Linked DNA regions of Homo sapiens: region 1 is linked to region 2. The links are contacts of gene promoters, found by promoter capture Hi-C in human tissues and cell types (Jung and others, 2019). All regions are on one chromosome and are shown on one strand. Each heading gives the region's core, a stretch centred on a gene start or on the middle of the fragment in contact. The rest is flanking DNA. Distances are from core to core; before and after follow the strand shown. Region 1 overlaps PCNX4 (pecanex 4). Region 2 holds the start of DAAM1 (dishevelled associated activator of morphogenesis 1).

Region 1 (3,191 bases), core at 381-2,880, 960 kb before region 2:
TCTCGCATTTTTTTTACATCTAGGTTTTTCTAAAAAAATGACAGCCTTTTTCTTCCTACCACCATCTTTGAAATATTGCTTATTATATAGTCTTACTACTTTGTCACTCTTTATTATAAGCTGGGCATTCTGTCATTTCTCAAAGCAATTTTTAGGACATAATACCTCATTCTTTATAGTCTGTACTCTTCCTCTCTCCCACTATTTTATATTTTATATATATGTATATATATAAATTTTCTTATTGATAAGCGTCTAAGTTAAGAAAATGCTAGCATAGCTTATTTCAAGCTAATAGTACTTGTTAACTAGAATTTGCTTCTTTAGTCTGTATGTCTGGAACTTTGTTTTTATGAATCTTTATTATTTTTAGGGATCAAGAACAGTGGCTACACTGAATTTTGTATTATCATTATTATTATTTTGTCTTTCTTAGTGCAAAGTTTTGAAAGTGGTAAATGCATATCTTCTGAAAAGAAACATCACATCTTGGGGATTATCAGGTTGCCTTGTTTTATTCCTTAAGCAATATACAAAAAGTTCACAAATAATTTTTTTTTCTTTTTATTTTTTTTGAGACAGAGTTTCCCTCTTGTTGGCCAGGCTGGAGTGCAATGGCGCAGTCTCAGCTCACTGCAACCTCCGCCTCCTGGATTCAAGCAATTCTCTTGCCTCAGCCTCCCGGGTAGCTGGGATTACAGGTGCACACCACCACACCCAGCTAATTTTTGTATTTTTAGTAGAGATGGGGTTTTGCCAGGCTGGTCTCTAACTCCTGACCTCAGGTGATCTGCCCACCTCGGCCTCCCAAAGTGCTGGGATTACAGGCATGAGCCACAGTGCCTGCCTGGCCACAAATAATTTTAAAGAGTTATCTTCCATATATCTCAATTCTACATAATCTGACTCATTGTTTTTATTTATTAGGGCAAGTCAGTGTAGGTATGATATGCTGATCCAGAAAAGTCATTATAGAGAATTTAGCATTGCAGTCCAATGCTATTTATACCTCCTCTAAACCAGAGATGATGCTAAACTCATTAGAAGTACTTTTGTGTACATCTAGAATTTTGGCTATGATTTTTAAATTCTAATTTAAGCAGTTTCTGAACTTTTGTAAAGATTCTTAATAGTGAATCATAATGATACAGCTCCTCAAAACAGAAGGACTTAAATGTTAAAAACTGGAGTAAATAGGAGTAGGTACTGATCCATGTTTCTGTCCCTCTTTTACAGGATGCAGACTCTTCTTATTTTAAAATCTTTAAGACAAAACATGACTGAAAAGAGCACCTGTACTTTTCAAGCCACTGGAGGGAGAAATGGAAAACATGAAAACAGCAATCTTCTTATGCTTCTGAATAATCAAAGACTAATTTGTGATTTTACTTTTTAATAGATATGACTTTGCTTCCAACATGGAATGAAATAAAAAATAAATAATAAAAGATTGCCATGAATCTTGCAAAAAAGGTATTAACTCATACTATATTCTTGGATAAAATAACCTTTTAAAATACTTTAGCACATATGCTTAAAATCTAAGTTAACAGATTTGTCTTAGTCCATTTGTGCTGCTATAACAAAATACCACAGATTTGGTAATTTATAAACAACAGAAATCTGTTTTTCCTGGCTCTTGAGGCTGGGAATTCCAAGACCAATGCACCAGCAGAATTAGTGTCTGGTGAAGGCTGATCTCTGCTTCCAAGATGGCACCTCATTGCTGCATCCTCCACAGTGGAGGAATGTATGTCCTCACATGGTGGAAGGGACAGAAGGGAAAGAGGAGCAAAATGCTTTCAAAAGAGCATTTAATCTCATTCATTACTCAGTCACCTCTTAAAGGCCACATCCTTTAATACTGTTGCTTTGGGGATTAAGTTTCGACATGAATTTTGGAGGGGACAAAAACATCCAAACCATAGCAACATAAATGTATAGAATATTTCACACAAAGCAGAGTGCTGGGTAATGACCAGATATAAAGAAGTATTTGAAATGACCTTACCTCCAAGATGCTTATACTCTTAGAAAAGTTGACAGGTACAGATGGCTGTAATTTGAAGCAGCAGGTAGGATTCATTGCACCTATTATTCATTAAACACCTGTTGTATGTCTTCTACTGTACTGGAGTGCTTAGTATTAGTTAATTAACTCATTCCTCATAACAGCCCACTAAGATAGATGGTATTACCTACCTTGATAGATGAAGAAAGACCAACAAGGTTTTACTTTTCCAAGGTCAAGGTCACAAAGCTAGTAAGGGGTAAAGCCATGATTAGATTCAGCTCAGGAAGATTCCACTGGCAACTCCTTACTTCTACTATTATTAATTTTACTTTAACATTTAACACCTTACAGCAGAAAACATGCACAGGCACTAATAGGAAATCAGCAGGAGTAACAGGTAAAGAAAAACATGGTCCTTATCTACAAGCAGTTCACAATTGAGCTGGAGCCAAAGTAACATACATAAAATAACTGTAGAATAGTTGTTGGGCAAGTTGGAAGCCACCCAAGTGGCTGTCCTTGGAAAAGGGGGAAGATGACATGTGGTAGAGGTACACGATGAGGTATAGCGGGTAGAAGCAATGGAATAAATGCATACATAACAACATGGATATGTACTAGAGGCATAGTCATAAGTGAAGAAATAAAGAAGCAACGCTAACACAATACTGTTCACATACACAAATATATGTGCACAGAAGATAGTGCTCATTTTGCAAGAAAACATACAACCTAATTAGATATATATTTAGGTATGGTAATAGTTACTTAGGATGGGGAGGAAACGGGGTGAACTATGGGGATAAAATATAATAAAGAGAGGACTCTTGCGTGACCAGTGATGAAAACTGGAATAACAACATTATTTATTGAATACAACACACCAATTATAAGAATGAAAAGATTGGAATAATTCTAGAATGCCACAAAATAACATATGTCATGTGGCCTGGTACAGACTATAAGCATAATAGTTCAGAAAAGGGAGATTTGCAGATAGAATCATGTGGAAGCCCTTCCTGATGAAGGTGTCACTTGCACTGGGCCTTGAAAGAAAGGAATTTAGACAGATGAAGAGAAGCTTCAGGAGGCCAGGTTCCAGGTCAGTTTTGTTTTATTCATCACTGAATCTCCAGTGCCTGCCTAGCATTGTGCCTGCTGATGTCTGTTCAACTAC
Region 2 (3,406 bases), core at 94-2,593:
AACTCCGCTTCGATTCACTGGGTCCTGCTCGAATCTCAAGAAACTACCAGCAAAACGGTCACGGTGGCATTTGCTCTTGATGCTCTCCAGAAAGTGGAGATGAAGGAGAGGGGAATGGAGTTCAGGCATCACTAAATATGTTATGGGGCGAGAGGTAGCTCCGCAAAGCCAGGCCGTGAACAACTTGAGACCTTAGCAGGGTTTGATGAATGAGTAAACGAACAAATGAAGGTACTAGGAAAGGCAAAGAACATCCAGAGGACTGAGAGCTCTGGGCCTCCTGCACGTCTCCACTCAGAGGGCAAGCCGATCACAAGCAGTTGGCTTTCAGAACCAGCTGGGTAAACCCGATTATCCAGCCCTCCTGCCCCACAGCGAGCCTAATCATTAGATTATCCGACACCTCCACCCCCGCGCTACCACCTCCTGGCCCAGGGCTTCAGGGCAGGCGCTTCGCCCCAGCCCAGGTGCTCTACACCAAGGGACCGTGGAGACTGAGATGCGCCCTCCCGAGAGGGACGGGCGGCAAAAGCCCTCTGCGGTGCCTCACAACCGGGTCCGCAGGCGGCGCAGCCTCCCCGGCCGCCAACACCCTGCTCTCCCTCCGCAACGCCCGATTTCCCTTCTCTCTGTTTTGAAACATTTAGGTCCAACTTAGTCTGAATTACAGGCGCTCCGTCCCTTTCGAATGGGGCTGGAAGTGAGGGTGCCAGGGGCACTGGGGGCTCTGCTCGGACGCGAACGGGTACACGAGTCCCTCCTTCCCTGTCGCCACCGCCGTGTCCACCAAGCCTGCCTCGGGGTTCTCCCTCTCGGAGCCGCCGGGCCGGGAGCTCGCGGACGCCGCTGCAGTACCCGCGGCCCCAGCCCCGGGGAGCCTTCAGCAAGGCGGCGAGTGTTACCCCGCCAGCTCCTCGGCCAGCCGGGCGCCTTAGAAAGAAAGGGAGGGACCCCAGTCCTTGGGGGCGTCTTCCTCCCTGCTGCCTCGGTTTGCGTTGCGCTGCAGCCATTTTCCCACCCCCAGCTAGGCAGCCGAGAGCTGTCTCGGTCCCGTTCCCACCCAGACCCAACCTGAAGGACGGGTTTAATATTTACCTACTGGCCCGGGAGCTCCGGGGAGGCAGCAGGAGGGCGCGCCGCGAACCCAGCGCCCAGCCCACGGAAGCACGCCCACCCCCGCACCACTGAGCAGTGCCACTTAATGAATGAGTGCGGCGGGCAAGGAGGAGCGTCCCCCTTACCTGAGCAGCCCCTGCATGCTGGAAAGGCGGCTCTGCACTCTGGGTACAATGGGATCCGGTTAAACAGTTTCCTTCACAGCCGCTCGTAGGTTACTAACTCGCAGGTGACATCACCCTCTCCTCGCCTGATAGGATACAAAGTGGCTCCCACTGCGCATGGACGCTCCGGTCGGGCGCGCAGACTCCTGGGAGTAGTGGTCCCAATCTATTAGCGGAGCCGGGACAGCTTTGCTGTCGGGACTCGCGGAACTACATCTCCCGACACACTCCTCCGCCCTTCTGCCCCGCCTCTTATTCCCGCCCCCTTCAGGACCCGCCCCCTCCCAGCCTTACAGCCTTGCAGTGTTAGCGGTGGTCGTTCCGAAGCCGAGCTGCGGACCGCACGGGAGAGTGGGAGGGCTGCCCTGCGGTCGTGTGTGTTGACTTGACCTCTACTTTGCCCGGCGCGGGCTCTGAAGGATCGGAGAGGTCCGGGGCTCGCGTGGTCCGGCCAGGCTCGCTCTAACTGGTCTTTCTTGGTCCCTGCTGGGAAGGGACGATTAAGACTTTTCTGCCTTCCCCAGGCGTAGCAGCTAATTCAGAGGGCTTACTGTTTTCTGGGTTAAATACGGTCCTCGAATTCTCCCCGCTCAACACTTCCAGAGGATGGGGCGACGCCGGTCCCAAGGCGGAGGAATCTCCTTGTACCCCCTCAATTCACCTTTCTCTTTTCTGCTTCCCGTTTAACGGAGACAAGGTGACCAGGCAGAACGCGGGGAACCACTTAGTCGGCTGAGCTGACAGAATAACGGAGGTTGTCACTACCAGAAGTGCGGTGTGATAGACTAGACAGTCGCCGCAACCCTCCGTCAGGGCGCCTGCTGCTGCTGCAAAGATAATACTATCGTGCAGCCATGCTTTTGTTCATCCCTGCAGCAGACTTCCCGCGCTGGTGGCTCTCCACTCCCAGGAAGAAAACGTCCTTGTCTAAAGTTTTAATAATTGTGTATCTATGTATACACATGTTTTTAAATCCACAACACTCTCACCTCATTTTCCATACCTTTTCAAATATTTTTATAAAGACATTAAACCAAACAACATCGTGCCGTTCAAGAATTGCCCTGCTCTTAACACACCTAAATATTTATTTAAAGGTAAGCAAAAGGTGTGTAGCAGAATTCTGACCCTTTAGGCAGGTTGTATTGTTAATACATAATTTTTTCCGTGGCATTTTTCATTATTCAGTGAATACCAAGTGTCTTTTAATATGAAAAGAATCAATGCATTTAGTTACTCGAGTTGTAAATGTAAATTTTAATGGCATTTGATGTGTCTCAATTCCATATAATGATCAGCTCACACACCCGTTCCACTAGCAAAATCTCTAGAAGACTGTGCATCTTGTGAAAAAAAGGTTCACAATTAAGATTTCAGACAACTCCCTACTGAAGTGTTGGTGGAACTCTTATCATTTATTTTCTCCTTTCATTCTGCAACACTAAGTTGGGTTCAAGTGAAAAAATATTTATGAAATTAGTTGAGGATCTCAGGGGAGAGGAAATGCTTTGTTTTGCTCAGAGAGATGTTTAGCGATGAATTCTGATGTTCTTTTAACAAGCCTGTTCTTTATAGACAAGACCCACTTTTCTCCCCCGAAAGAAGATAGCTTTGAATGTTGCTCTTCTGTCCTCAGCTACTTCTTCCATTTCAAATATTATCTAAAATGAACTCTGACAATATAAATTTTCCCCTGGCCATCAGATCAAGGATATAATCACTGATATTCTAACTAATGGGTAGACTTAATGTAACGCAGTTCATGGTGGAAAAATATTCAGAGAGAAACTTGACCTGGGATGATTCTAAAGGCTCTTCTAATTTTATAACTGTGTAAAGCTTTTAGACTGAAACATAATCAGTGAGCCTGAAATTTATTGAGTCAATAAATTGAATGTGGAGCCTTTCTGTTAAGACAGGGCTTATCCTTGTAGATAAAAGTATGTTACTGAGGCACACTCTGAGGAGTAATTTTAATGGAGAAATCACCTTACAACAAGTTCTCTTGGCTCTTCAGTAATGAAGGAGAAGATGCAGTCTGTCTGAAAACAAAAATTCCATTCTCTTTAACAATATTATAGGGATGTGCCATGTGACATAGTCATCTCCATATAAAGGACAGCATA

Evidence for each region. Contacts are between HindIII fragments. The study calls those that stand out against the background at their distance.
Region 1: a fragment that was not itself captured here is called in contact with the fragment with the promoter of DAAM1 in region 2 in 1 of the 25 tissues and cell types used here (spleen).

What each region holds. Positions count from the first base shown.
Region 1 is chr14:60,143,059-60,146,249 of GRCh38, reverse strand. It overlaps PCNX4 (pecanex 4), which reads right to left. Exons shown (of 11, transcript NM_001330177.2): 11 at 1-3,191. It overlaps DHRS7 (dehydrogenase/reductase 7), which reads left to right. Exons shown (of 7, transcript NM_016029.4): 7 at 1,237-2,131. The coding sequence ends at 1,284. Among named protein-coding and RNA genes, the nearest start is that of DHRS7, 21 kb to the left of the region's middle. The HindIII fragment of the contact is 4,222 bases long and covers 1-3,191 here.
Region 2 is chr14:59,186,604-59,190,009 of GRCh38, reverse strand. It overlaps DAAM1 (dishevelled associated activator of morphogenesis 1), which reads right to left and starts at 1,343. Exons shown (of 25, transcript NM_001270520.2): 1 at 1,242-1,343. RefSeq lists enhancers at 191-350, 61-820, 1,601-1,840 and silencers at 711-930, 991-1,130. The HindIII fragment of the contact is 8,246 bases long and covers 1-3,406 here.